3 separate regions of the Homo sapiens genome follow, and regions 2 and 3 are each linked to region 1. The links are contacts of gene promoters, found by promoter capture Hi-C in human tissues and cell types (Jung and others, 2019). All regions are on one chromosome and are shown on one strand. The core of a region is centred on a gene start or on the middle of the fragment in contact, and the rest is flanking DNA. Distances in the headings are between cores, read along the strand shown. Region 1 holds the start of ACTN2 (actinin alpha 2). Region 2 overlaps ACTN2 (actinin alpha 2). Region 3 has its middle 36 kb from the start of HEATR1.

The links. Contacts are between HindIII fragments. The study calls those that stand out against the background at their distance.
Region 2: a fragment that was not itself captured here is called in contact with the fragment with the promoter of ACTN2 in region 1 in 1 of the 25 tissues and cell types used here (pancreas).
Region 3: a fragment that was not itself captured here is called in contact with the fragment with the promoter of ACTN2 in region 1 in 1 of the 25 tissues and cell types used here (psoas muscle).

What each region holds. Positions count from the first base shown.
Region 1 is chr1:236,683,971-236,688,721 of GRCh38, forward strand. It overlaps ACTN2 (actinin alpha 2), which reads left to right and starts at 2,529. Exons shown (of 21, transcript NM_001103.4): 1 at 2,529-2,829. The coding sequence starts at 2,704. RefSeq lists a silencer at 2,385-2,474 and an enhancer at 4,113-4,751. The HindIII fragment of the contact is 16,282 bases long and covers 1-4,751 here.
Region 2 is chr1:236,737,045-236,741,795 of GRCh38, forward strand. ACTN2 (actinin alpha 2) reads left to right here. Exons shown (of 21, transcript NM_001103.4): 9 at 78-170; 10 at 2,258-2,488. Among named protein-coding and RNA genes, the nearest start is that of ACTN2, 53 kb to the left of the region's middle. The HindIII fragment of the contact is 4,886 bases long and covers 400-4,751 here.
Region 3 is chr1:236,637,858-236,642,608 of GRCh38, forward strand. No RefSeq gene overlaps it. Among named protein-coding and RNA genes, the nearest start is that of HEATR1, 36 kb to the left of the region's middle. RefSeq lists an enhancer at 1,674-2,231. The HindIII fragment of the contact is 7,227 bases long and covers 1-4,751 here.

The DNA.
Region 1 (4,751 bases), core at 1,279-3,778:
TTTCAGGCAGGATGGTAAATCTGGCGCTGTTTTTTCCATCTCATGAAGTCCCCACGTTAATTTTTGAAAACTAAGTTGAACGATGTAGCACTTTTTGTAATTGTACATCCAATTTCTTTTCTTTTCTTTCTTTCTTTTTTTATTTTTTTTTGAGATGGAATTTTGCTCTTGTCGCCCAGGCTGGAGTACAGTGGCGCAATTTCTGCTCACTGCAACCTCCACCTCCTGAGTTCAAGCGATTCTCCTGCCTCAGCCTCCTGAGTAGCTGGGATTACAGGTGCATGCCACCACAGCCAGCTAATTTTTTTATTTTTATTTTTTTTAGTAGAGATGGGGTTTCATCATGTTGGCCAGGCTGGTCTTGAACTCCCAACCTCAGGTGATCTACCCACCTCGGCCTCCCAAAGTGTTGGGATTACAGGCCTGAGCCACTGTGCCCGGCCCAGTTTCTAATAGGTAAAATTTATTGATCCACTTGTTTCAAGAGTATGATTTTAATCCAAAATATAAACTCTAAATTTTAAATTTAAATCCAAGTAAATTAGCTCAGTCACTATTTCCAGGGATACTACTTCTCTCAACAAATGAGCACCACTGTGCGGTGGACACGCCTGTAGTTGCTGGGGTCTACAACTGTGGACGAGACAAAATCCCTGCGTTTGAGGAATTTACATCCTAGTGAGAATGTTTTTGAAAATGTTAATGTGGCGGGGCGTGGTGGCTCACACCTGTAATCCCCACTTTTGAAGGCTGAGGCAGGTGGATCACCTGAGGTTGGGAGTTCGAGACCAGCCTAACCAACATGGAAAAACCCCGTCTCTACTAAAAATACAAAATTAGCCGGGTGTGGTGGCACATGCCTGTAATCCCAGCTACTCCGGAGGCTGAGGCAGGAGAATCGCTTGAACCGGAGAGGTGGACGTTGCGGTGAGCCGAGATCGTGCTCTTGCACTCCAGCCTGGGCAACAAGAGTGAAGCTCCATCTCAAAACAAAACAAAACAAAACAAAGTTAATGCAACCTGTTTGCTAATTGTTATCTTTCTGCATAAAGCCCCAAACAGTAACGGTGAGTGATGTAAAAATTCTAAGGAACAATGATAAATCCAGACAAACTCAACTTGAAACATGTCCACAAATTAGTAGCCCTGAATCACAAAAAATTCTGTAGCATCTGTGGGCAACGTTTATTCAATTGAGATATAAACTGAATTGCAGGCAGGCATCCCATCAGCTCGTCTGGTGCCTAAGGCAACCTCTGGTTTACAGTAGTTGCTTAATACATATTTGATTTAAAAATTTCAGCCTACTTGTCCCAAGGGTCCTCATTTTGCTTCCTGCGGCAGCATAACTGATAGGGAACAGCTAGCCAGCACTAGGGGGATGAAAAGGCGTTAAGTGCAACCCACAGGGCGACATGGAAATATAACACGAAGCTGGCCGCTTGCCCTTCATTGTCAGCTCTCTTAAATTTATGCCCGGTAGGTGAGAGCTGACACTTCCTGCCTTTGGTTTGGTTCCTAACATTTTAATAGGATGGATCCAAATCCTGTGCCTTGATTTCCCCAGGTGAGGGTGAGGAGGAGAGAAAGAAGAGGGGGGTTCTGTAGCTTTTAAACTTTACTCCTTAGGGGCCTGTATGTATGTATGTGTGTGTGTGTGTGAGAGGGAGGAAGAGAAACAGAGAGAGAGAAGAGAGAGACAGAGATGAGAGAGGTATGAGAGACACAGGAGAGAGAGACAGATGAGAGAGAGAAAGAGAGACACGACAGAGAGAGAGAGACGAGAGAGAGAGAGACACGGGAGAGAGAGACAGAGGAGAGAAGAGGAGAGGAGAGAGACACGAGAGACAGATGAGAGACAGTGAGACACGAGAGAGAGAGAGAGATGAGAGGAGAGAGAGACATGTGAGAGAGACACAGGAGAGACAGAGATGAGAGAGAGATATGAGAGAGATCTATGAGAGAGAGACACTGGAGAAAGAGGGACAGAGATGAGAGAGAGACAGACGAGAGACAGACACAAGAGAGAGGGACCGATGAGCGGAAAGAGAGGCACGAGAGAGAGATGAGAGAGAGAGAAGAGGGGTCTCCAATGAATATGTGGGAATATATGGAAAACGCGAATATCCAAATGATATTTGGAAAACTTGGCTGTGTTGGGGTGGTCAGGGACCCAGCCTCTTAGGTGTCCCTCCCCTGGCTCGCGATCACCCACCCGGGACACCGACGGACCCCGCGCCGCTAACCAGCCGCTCTCAGAGCGTGGGTGGCAGGCGTGGCTCTGCTCGGGGCCGGCCGCTCCCCTCACGTTCCCGGAGGCCTCGGCGGAAGGCGTGCAGGCGGCCTCTGGGCGGCGGCTGCAGGGGAGACAGTGGAGGGGCCCGGCGCCCTTGTCCGCCCGCACGTGCTCGGGGCGGGGCGGCTGGGGCCCGACGGGCGGGGCCGGGGGCGGTGGCGGCGGGGGCGTGGCCGGGCGGCCACGTGACGGGCGGCGCGGCTATTAAGCCGCGCGGCAGCTGCTCGCAGCCGGAGCTGGTGCTTCGCCCGAGACCCAGCGCCCAGGCGTGTCGCCCCGAGAGGAGCCGCGCGAAGGTCACCCCGCGCCCGCCGCCCGCCGCCCGCCGCCTCCGTGGGTCCGTTTGCCAGTCAGCCCGTGCGTCCGAGCCCCTCGCGCCCCGCCGCAGCCCCGGCCAACCGAGCGCCATGAACCAGATAGAGCCCGGCGTGCAGTACAACTACGTGTACGACGAGGATGAGTACATGATCCAGGAGGAGGAGTGGGACCGCGACCTGCTCCTGGACCCAGCCTGGGAGAAGCAGCAGAGGAAGGTCAGCAGGGGCCCGCGGGCCGCCCGCGCGTGGTGGGGCCGGGTCCCCCGCGGGGCTCCCGTGCGCGTGGCCGCGTGGCCTGGCGACTGGCGAGAGGGCGCTTTGTGGAGGTGCTGTGCTGTCCTGTGCCCTCGCAGCCCCGGGGGCCCCTTAGGAAAGAGGACACGTCCGGGGACAGGCAGGACACTGGGCGTCGTGTGTGTGCGCGCGCGCTAGCAGCATCGGAGGTACAGATGTGGTTCTGTTCCTCACACCAACCCGCGTTAGACCAGATCTGAAGGGGTCTCTGGTCTGCTCCTGACCCCTTGAGTCTGTGACCTTGGCCCCCGAGTTATACTCTCCTGGCCCGCTTGTGTCCATTTACCCCAGCCTCTCTCTTCCCCATTGAAAGAAGCAAAAGAACATCAGCTTCATTGCAATTTCCACCGGGCTGCCCCTAGAGTCATGGAAAGTCATTTATTCAATCTTTTGGGTTCCTTGGAGAGGGATGTTGTATGAACACTAGACATTTACCGATAGTGACAATTATTTCACACTCTATTTATAATTCATTGAGGTAAGCACACAGGGACGAAGGAGTCAGCCAGCTTCTAAAAGCTCCCTCCCCATTTTGATTGGCGTTCTCTGGGGGCCCAGTGGAACATTCCACTTTTTCAAGGTTTCCTCTTGATCCTCTTGGCTGGAATAAATAGGGAATGCTCACCAGGAGGCTTAATCCCGCCTCTTACTTGACTAGGCAGGGAGCCTGGTTGGGTCAGACATGACAACAGAGACCTGCCAACCCAACCTTAAGATAACGGGGTTATGGCAAAAGCCAAACGCTCTGAACTTTTTTCCGCCTATTTTTCTGGGCGTGGGGCAAGATAGATTTCCCTTCTAAGGACCTGCTTTAGGTGGATAGCCTGTGGTGACCATAGTGTGTATGGGAATCTCTGTATAATGGGTACTGTAGCTGATTGTGCGATAGTATTTGGTGAATAGGGGTATGATGGTGGAGAACACACATCCCAAACTCCTCTCGCAGCAAACAGCGTTAGCTGGAAGGAGAGATGATTATCAAATAACCAAGCACTATTTTTATATCAGGATGTCTCTTGTCTACCCTCTCTCCTAAAATACCATTTACTATTATTATTTTAAAGCTCTAATTTAGCTACATTTCAGTCTCTCCCCGAGTTTCTTAAGGCTTTTACCATCCCTACCTTTCTTAGAAAATGGGAGTAATAAATAGAAAAAAACAAAACTTCAAGCCGTCTACTATTGTTTAAAGGACTGATTGTGAAGGAAGTACGAGGCATGAGGATTACTAATGTGTCATCTGGACCAGCTGATGCATCATCCATCAGCACGAAGTTAAAAAGTGACTTTAATTTTTAGCAGTGAGTGTTTTTTTTTAAAAGAATTTCCCCAAATTTTGATTACTGCACTTTTCATGGATTAAAAAAAAAGATAACTCCCGGGTCTTTGTTTTAAAAATTGCTTTCTTATGAGGAATTGTAAAATAGCTAAGGAATTGGACAGGTAGTCTGCCCATCATTTTTGAAAGTGATGGTCTAATCACAGTGCTTTCTGTTGCCTTTTTTTTTTTTAAGTACAGTACAGTAGCAGGATAGAGGTAATGACAGTTTCCAGAGGCCACATTGACATCCCTTCTGCCATATTTAATCTTTTAACTTATTTGCAGTATTTTTGGATATATGGCTTCGAATTCTTTTAGGTTTGGGATTCCTATGTTGACTGTATTATTATAATTGCATAGCACTTGAAGTAAAGTTGATTATTTAAAAATAACATACTTCCTGATCCCAGTCCAAAATAATGTTAGAAAGTTTAAGGTGAGAATTTTTTTTAAGATAGTTTGAATGTTGTACATGCTTGGGGGGCAAAAACTACATTAGGAGAGATCTAGAAGATTCTCTATT
Region 2 (4,751 bases), core at 1,593-4,092, 53 kb after region 1:
ATCACCCACCTCGTTCCATGCTGTGTGTGCGCATTCCCGTCGACAGAGCCGTCCTGTTTACCTATTGTGTTTTACAGGCCGAGACAGCGGCTAACAGGATATGTAAGGTTCTTGCTGTGAATCAAGAGAATGAGAGGCTGATGGAAGAATATGAGAGGCTAGCGAGTGAGGTAAAGGAAACTGGTGACCTGCAGTTCTGTCCATCCTCACGCAGGGGCTGAGGCACAGAGGGTGAAAAAATACTCCGTGGGGGCATATATATATATATATATATTTTGCATTTTTCATCTCAGATAGGATGAAAGTAGGAAAATACACTTGATCTCTGAGGTTGTTCCTATTGTAGTAACCTAACTTTTGGCAAAAACATAATCCCCAGTGGTCTTTCCAACGATCCCAAAGCAGAAAGGTATAGTTTGCATGTCTGAAGATAGGAGAATGCGATTCTCTGCTCAGCTCTGCACCTCCAGGGTTGGACACCCCTAGACGACCTTGGGTTACTTGTTTTTTTTTTTTCCTGTTCACTGGCTACCAACATCACATAGGATGCACTCCATATGCAAAAGCCTCACTCCACATAGGGACCCAGTGTCAAAGGAACTGGCCCAGCCTGGTGTGCGGAGCTGGCTCGGGCTCGTGTGTCTGTATAAATACCCAGAGGAAATCTGGGGAAGACAGAGCCCTCCCTGCAGAATATTTGAGCATGAGTTTCTGTGGTGCCTTTCCAGAGCTCTTCAGCTAGACTCTTGGTTAGGACAGCAGTTTCCAGGTTGTTTTTCTTTTCGTTCTTGTTATAGCATACGTAGCGACTACGCAGTATCCTCGCTGCATCTGCACTGTTTTCCCAAATACAAGCATGGGCTGCATGAGGCCCCCAGCCACCTCCTCTCTAAATTGGACTCAAGTACAGTGACACATACTTCAGACCAAATAATTTTTGCCAAGCCTTATTTTTTGCTTTGTTTTGTTTTGTTTTGTTTTCTATGACAGAGTCTTGCTCTCTGGCCCAGGCTGGAGTGCAGTGGGGCAGTCCTGGCGCACTGCAACCTCCGCCCCCAGGGTTCAAGCAATTGTCCTGCCTCAGCCTCCCAAGTAGCTGGGATTACAGGCGTGCACCACCACACCCAGCTAATTTTGTATTTTTAGTAGAGATGGAGTTTCACCGTGGTAGCCTGGCTGGCCTTGAACTCCTGACCTCAGGTGATCCACCCGCCTTGGCCTCCCAAAGTGCCGGGATTATTGGCGTGAGCCACCGCACCTGGCCTTCTTTTTAATTTAGCTGATATTTGGTCTTTATTGGGAAAAGTATCAGGACATTTGGAATAAATGTTCCAATAAATAGTAGTGTAACTTTATGATACTGAGTTCATATCTTCATACTGCTGCTATAGAAAAATTAAGCTTGATGGCATTGTTGAATGGCAGTGACAGGGTTGCCAGACATGAAGCATGGCCAGTACTGAAGGCCAGAGGATCCTTAGGAATTCAATTCTTCCTTTTCTTACTGGGTCCTTCATTTATCCTCCTAAAACCCTTAGACTCTAGGTATATCACCATTTAAACTATTTTTCATTCGAATCTGCTGTCATTTTCCAAGTGCTCAGTAGGCATAAGTGTAAATGATGGGGTTTTCAGCAAGTCATTTCTAAGACCTAGGTAGTAATTCAAGAGGTGCATGTGTATTTTGTCCTTAGGGATTCACTACCACGTTCGCTTTTATCATGCAGATTTACTTAAAAGCTAGACGTCAAAATACACTTTGGCATTGAGTTAGGCCCAGGCTTACAATACAGTTGTGTAGTAAGTAATCTAATTAGATTTGAGCTTATTTTTTAAAAACACATTTTAAGTGAAATCCAGTTCTTTGCTGAATTTATTACACTACAGTTCTGCCATGTCAAGTATTTTGGGGTTGTTTTGTTTTGTTTTTTGTTTTTTTAATTTGAAAGCTCCATCCAGCATTTGTCTGCTAATGTCTGGTCCCTGAGTTTCTTGTAAACGTCACATTTTTGTAAGACACGACTTTACGTGCTCACTTTAAGTTTTCGACCTGTGTTTGGTATCGTTGGGGTGATCACTCGCGGCCATGGGCGGACACTGAACATCTCGTTCATGCCTCTGTGCGTAGAGGTACCACATCTCAGTGATTTTAGGAACATTCATCCTTTACAAATTATTGGATGCCTCATTTTTTTTTTTTAACTGGGGGAGGGGGCTTGCTGGTGTCTTCAGCAGTATTTTTGTGTTTGCGGAGCAGCTTTTGGAATGGATTCGTCGCACGATCCCCTGGCTGGAGAACCGGACTCCCGAGAAGACCATGCAAGCCATGCAGAAGAAGCTGGAGGACTTCCGGGATTACCGCCGGAAGCACAAGCCACCCAAGGTGCAGGAGAAATGCCAGCTGGAGATCAACTTCAACACGCTGCAGACCAAGCTGCGGATCAGCAACCGTCCTGCCTTCATGCCCTCCGAGGGCAAGATGGTGTCGGTGAGTAGCAAGCGCCAAGCCCTCCTGGCGCCACGGGAAGCCCTCCTTCTAGCCTAAAGGCGTTTGACCTGGGTCAGGAGGAGGCATTGACTTCTTGAATCTTTTTAGTTGTGTGAATATCATTTTGGCCCTGTAACCACTTTGTTCTTAATACTTTTCTCCCAACCATCATGTACTTCTTGAATCCAGCTGCCACTGGGGTACAGTGTCCCACAAAGAGCAGACCTTTAGGAAACGCTCGATGAACAGCCTCTTTCTCTCGTCCCTCCTCATGGCCTTGGCCCCTCATGTCCACCAGCATCTAGATCATGTGTCTTCTGTTCCCTGCTGTTACAAGCTACCCATCTCACCTTCGCAAAGTCTGAGTCCTCCATTTATCTCCCTCTCTTCCACATTGTCACTTTCTCCCTCTCCACCGAATCATGCACACCAGCATACAAAAGTGCTGTCAAATCTGCCAGTCACAAGCTAAAACCAAGGACTCCACATCTCCCACGAGCAACTTCTTGGCTCCCCTTCACAGCAAAACATCTAGAAGGAGTTCTTTGTGGTACCTATTTCCGCTCCCTCCCCACTCACTCACTCACTTTTTTTTTTTGGAGACGGAGTCTCACTCTGTCACCCAGGCTGCAGTGCAGTGGCGTGATCTCAGCTCACTGCAAGCTCCGCCTCCCGGGTTCAAGCAATTCTCCTGCCTCAGCCTCCTGAGTAGCTGGGATTACAGGTGCCCGCCACCACGCCCGGCTAATTTTTGTATTTTTAGTAGAGAAGGGGTTTCACCATGTTGGTCAGGCTGGTCTTGAACTCCTGACCTCAGGTGATCCGCCCGCCTCGGCCTCCCAAAGTGCTGGGATGACAGGCGTGAGCCACCACGCCCAGCCCCAACTCACTCACTTCTCTTACCCTTCAACTTGCAGTAAACTGGCTTCTGTCCCTGCTTCCACCAAGAATGTTCTTGCCAAAGTCAATGGCATTCATGTTGTCAGAGCAAGTCATTTTTATTTTTATTTTTATTTTTGAGACAGAGTCTCACTTTGTTGCCCAGGCTGGAGTGCAGTGGCACGATCTCGGCTCACTGCAACCTCTGCCTCCCGAGTTCAAGCAATTCTCCTGCCTCAGCTTCCCAGGTAGCTGGGATTACTGGTGCCCGCCACCACGGCCAGCTAATTTTTGTAATTTTAGTAGAGGTGGGGTTTCACCATATTGGCCAGGCTGGTCTCGAACTCCTGACCTTGTGATCCACCCACCTCGGCCTCCCAAAGTGCTGGGATCATTTTTATTTTTACATTCTCAGTTTTTTTGGCCCAGCTGCCCATTTCCCCATTCTTGAAGTTCTTCCTACTTTGGCCCTCCTGTTTCTTCCTCCTTCACCAGCGAGGCCTTCTCCATCTCTGTTCAAGGCCTTGCCTCCTCCCTCTACCTGTAGATGTTGGTGATTCTCAGGCTTGGTGCTGAGCCCTCTTCATCTTTATACCCTCCAGGTGATCTCATCCAGGCCCATGGCTTGTTTTTTCTTTTTCCTTTTTTTTAAAAACATGGTCATGCTCTGTCACCCAGATTGGAGTGCAGTGGCACAATCACAGCTCACTGCAGCCTTAATCTCCTGGGCTCAAGTGATCCTCCCACCTCAACATCCTGAGTAGCTGGGACTACACGCACATCCCACCATGCCTGGCTAATTATTTCTTTGCAGAGATGGGGTCTTGCTGTGTTGCCAGGGGCGGCCCAAACTCCTGGGCTCAAGCGATCCTCCCACCTCAGCCTCCCAAAGTGCTGGGATTATAGGCATGAGCGAGCATGCCTGGGCGGGCCCATGGTTTTAATTGCCACCTAAATGCCAATACCTCTCAAATTTTACATTTCCAGCTCTGACTTTTCCCCAAATTCCAGGCCAGTATATCCACCTGGATATATTATAGCATATTAAACTGAACATATCCAAAAGAGTTCCTCCCGGTTTCCTCGATCCTAGTAAATTCTATCACTGTCCTCTAAGTTGCCAACCCCCAAACCCAGGTTTCATCCTTGATTCTTCCCTTTCTGTCACTTTCTTACATCCAGTTCTTCAGCCAGTCCCATTGGCTCTTCTTCCAGAATACATCGTAAGTAAATGCTCTTAATCCCCTTCTCTTTACCTCCACGGCCACTGGCCTATCCTAAGCCACCATTCTCTCTCCTTGGACCCTGCAAGTAACTGCTGACCGGTTCTTCTTTTTCTTTTGCCCCTTAAAATTCATCCCGCCTACATCAGCCTCTGTCGTCT
Region 3 (4,751 bases), core at 1,584-4,083, 46 kb before region 1:
GAGACCAGCCTGGGCAACATAGTAAGACCCTGTCTCTACCAAAAAATCAAAATAAAAAAGTGTGGTGGCGTGTGCCTGCAGTCCCAGCTACTCCAGAGGCTGAGGTGGGAGGATCACTTGAGCCTAGGAGTTCAAGGCTACAGTGAGCTGTGATCACACCACCACAGTCCAGCCTGGTGACAGAGCAAGACCCTGACTCTAAAGCAACAAACTTTTTTTTTTTTTAAGACGGAGTCTTGCTCTATCACCCAGGCTGGATTTGGGAGGCCAAGGTGGGCAGATCACCTGAGGTCAGGAGTTCAAGACAAGCCTGGCCAACATGGTGAAACCCTGTCTCTACTAAAAATACAAAATTAGCTGGGCATGGTGGTGCGTGCCTGTAATCTCAGCTACTTGGGAGGCTGAGGCTGGAGAATAGCTTGAACCCGGGAGGCAGAGGTTGTAATGAGTCAAGATCTCGCCACTGCTCTCCAGCCTGGGTGACAAGAGTGAAACTCTGTCTCAATAAATAAATAAGTAAAAATAAAAAATTAAGCAAAAAAAAAAAGAAAGAAAAAAAAGAAAAAAAAAGTTCTGGAATCCTGCCCCTGCTTTCAGAATTCTGGGGGAAAATGTTCTAGAAGGGTATTCCTGTACAACCTCCATAAAAATAGCCCTGCTCACATGTATGTAGCTCATTCATCCATGCATCACCTACATAATGAATGGAACCATGGCAGCTACTGTGAGACAGGCAGGTGTATAAACATACATTTATATGTGTACACATAAAATGACTCATCACATATATGTCCTTGCCTACTAGCTTATAATTCTTTTAGGGCAGATTCAATGTTGGTTTTATCTTTTTATATCTGTCTGGTTGTAGTTCAGTGCCTTGATCATGGTAAGTATTAAATTGATGTTTGTTGGCTGATGTCTGGTCTGCTGGGGTCGCAAATTTTCAAGATGCACGCAGAGGTAATGGGGTTGGACAAGTTTTGCTAAAACATATTCATCTTTTAAACGCATAAACTGTATTCTCTTCCAGAGCACATTTCCAACATCAAATATTGAAGACGTCTACACACTTGATTTTATTTTTTCCATGACAGATAGGCTCATTAGATGGGACACTTCAGGCCAAGAATGACATACGACTTCATAACATTCTCTGTCCGTGATGTTGTCATAAGCACTTAGCCCCAGTTCATTTAGCTTATATAGTACTGGCCGCCAACATCATCTGAGGTTACAATATTGTTCAGGCGTCTCACGTCATCACTTTCCATTCCCTCTAGCTCCGAGAGTCTCATTTTAGCCGTGGGGATCACGTGGCATGGCATGTCTATAATGTCACTTGTAGAGATACCGTTACCGGTTTGCCCCTACTGTCCAGTGACCCCACTCCAAAAGCAAGCATCACGCGCTGTGTGTGCGGTTCAGAATAAGAGGATCCAAGCAGAGGGCTTTGCCTGCAGTAAATGTTTCAGACAGATGTGAACAAGGCAGTTTCTCCGTGTTCACTGACAAATTTGGCCATAATACCCATGTCACTATAACGCACATCACATTTTCCTGAGAGTAAGTGATAATAGAATAAAAATCCCCGCTCTGAATATCAAGAGCTTCAATGATCCCACAAATCCCCCTGCAATTTTATCCAGACTGCCATCCCAGCAGTGGAAGCAGGGATTTTAGAAACCCATTTTTCTACCTAGGAACATCACTTTAGGACAATCATCTTTATTTCACTGCTATTCAGTTCCAGACCCATAAACATAAAGAGGGAAATACAGAAATAGAATCAGAAGGGCAGGGGAAGAAAAGAGTGGAACAAAATACTTTTTAAGAGCTGCATGGACTTAATGGAATTTCCTTTCTATATAATCCTCAGGATCATTAAAAATAGGTCCTGACTGCCTTTTTTTGGTCCTGCAAAAGTTCTAGGTCTTGTACCCCTTCTAACATAGGCACCAGGCTGACGGGTAGGAGTGCTTAGAGCCGGGGTCCCTCGCAGAGCAGCTGCACATTAGCTGGCATTTGCCAGTCCTCTGTGAGTCGGTTGCCAGGTTTCTAGAGTGTTAGAATAGTAAACAGTTGTTTCTCAGAAACAGAGAGAGGGTTATCCACAACCTCACATGCTAAATTTAAATTTAATAAAGCTCTTTCCTAACCATTGAGATCAGTGATTTTTAACCAGGGTGGGGGTGAGGAGAGATCTATCTCCAAGGAGTTTGGGGAAGGAACCAGCATGTGGAGTTCAAAAAAAGTCCCCGAGTGATTCTGTATCCCACCTCCAAATCCCAATGTCTCATCAGAGAGTCGCTGGCACAGAGCTGGGATGCTGACGGAGGCCCCTCCAGCTTTTTCTGCAATTTGCCCGCAGTGCTCCTGACATTTCCAAAAGGGAGCACTCAGGGAAGATCACACAGAGGAGATGTCAGAAGTCCTCGGCTGCCCTCCTTGATGTTGCCCTGTGAGCTTTCTCACAGCTATCAGGGGGCAGCTAAAGAGACAGAAGAGTCTAATGAGGATGAGGTGGGTATAATTAAATGTTGACAACAGTTGACGGAGAGTCTTAAGTTTGATCCTTGGAGCTGCGGGAGATTTAGAGTGGGAATTTGGATGTCATCAGTCGTGTCTTCTACAGTCCCTGAAGAGGCTGGGTATGGTAGGTCATGCCTGTAATCGCAGCAGTTTGGGAGCCAAGGCGGGTGGATCACCTGAGGTCAGGAGTTCGAGACCAGCCTGGCCAACATGAGAAAACCCTGTCTTTCCTCAAAATACAAAAAATTGGCCAGGTGTGGTGGTGGGTGCCTGTAATCCCAGCAGTTTGGGAGGCTGAGGTAGGAGAATTGCTTGAACCCGGAAGGCGGAGGTTGCAGTGAGCCTAGATTGGGTCATTGCACTTCAGCCTAGGCGACAGAGCAAGACTCTGTCTCAAAATCAAATCAAATCGAATCAAATCCCTGAAGAACAGGGATGGCTGCACAGACAAACAGCAATGAAGTATGGCAATGAAGGCTGAAGATGGAAGTAGATGCGTCCTTCCACACAATCCCCTGCTTTCATGTTATGAGCTTGGGAGGGAGGCTTCCTTTTTGCAAAAGTGGGAAAGCACAGATGTCATTTGTTTGAGCCATGACTGAAAAGACCCTTTGACCTTTGAAACCAAAATGTGTATAAGGGCTGGGTGTGGTGGCTCATACCTGTAATCCTAGCACTTTGGGAGGCTGAGGCAGGAGGATCGCTTGAGCTCGGGATCTCAAGACCAGCTTGAGCAACATAGTGAGAACCTGTCTCTACAAAAAATAAAATAAAATAAAATTAGCTGGATGTGGTGGCACACACCTGTAGTCCCAGATATTCAGGAGGTTGAGGTAGGAGGATAGCTTCAGCCAGGGAAGTCAAGGCTGCAACGAGCCGTGATCACGCCACTGCACTCCAGCCTGGGCAAAAGAGCAAGACTCTGTCTTCAAAAAAAAAAAATGTGTATAAGGAAACCAAAAACAAGCTGGTGTTTTAAAAATTGCTGGTAATTTTTTGTTTGGTAAGCCATAAAGAATTGCACATGCATAACTGTGGGGAAGACACTTTCCTAGTTCTGAAACTAACTCTTGAATTGGACATTTAGTTATGAAATTAAGGCTGGGTGCGGTGGCTCACGCCTGTAATCCCAGCACTTTGGGAGGCCGAGGCGGGTGGATCACAAGGTCAGGAGTTCGAGACCAGCATGGCCAATATGGTGAAACCCCGTATCTACTAAAAATACAAAATTAGCCGGGTGTGGTGGTGTATGCCTGTAGTCCCAGCTGCTCGGGAGGCTGAGGCAGGAGAATCGCTTGAACCTGGGAGGCGGAGGTTGCAGTGAGCCAAGATGGCACCACTGCACTCCAGCCTGGGTGACAGAGCAAGACTCCGTCTCAAAAAAAAAAAAAAAAAAAAAAAAAGAAATTAAAAGGGAAATCCCAAAATGGGAAATGGGGACCTGTGTGGCAGACATTCTTGGATGGCTTCCCAACAAATGGTCATATCTGTACTATAGGAGGTCTCAAAGTGGTCCTGAGGCCTTTTAGGTGGTTTCCAAGGTCAGAACCACTTTTATAATAATACTAAGACACTATTTGCCTTTGCCCCCTCATCCTGCCATGAGTCTACAGTTAAGTGTTCCTCATGCTACATGACATTCAGTAATAAAACAGATTGCAGGAGCAGACAGGAGAATCCAGGTTTCTTCCATTAAGACGGACAATAAAGAGATGTGCAAAAATGTAAAACAATGCTATGGTACCATTAATTTCTTTGGAAAATAGAGTTATGTTTCATAAAAATGCATTCTTTATGTGAAATGTATGTTCACATGTCATGCGTTTGTTGTTCATTTCAAATTAGTATACTAATTTTTAAATGCCCCAGTTTTAATTTCTAATATGGTAAACATTGATAGATATAATGCACATTAAAAAAAAAAACCTTTTATAGCTGGGTGCCGTGGCTCATGCCTGTAATCCCAGCACTTTGGGAGGCCAAGGCGGGCAGATCACCTGAGGTCAGGGGTTCGAGACCAGCCTGGCCAACATGGTGAAACCCCATCTCTACTAAAAACACAAAAATTAACTGGGCTTGGTGGTGGGCTCCCATAGTCCCAGCTGCTTGGGAGGCTGAGGCAGGAGAATCGCTTGAACCCTGGAGGTGGAGGTTGCAGTGAGCCGAGATCGTGCCACTGCATACCAGACAGAGTGGTACTCCATCTCAAAAAAAAAAAAAAA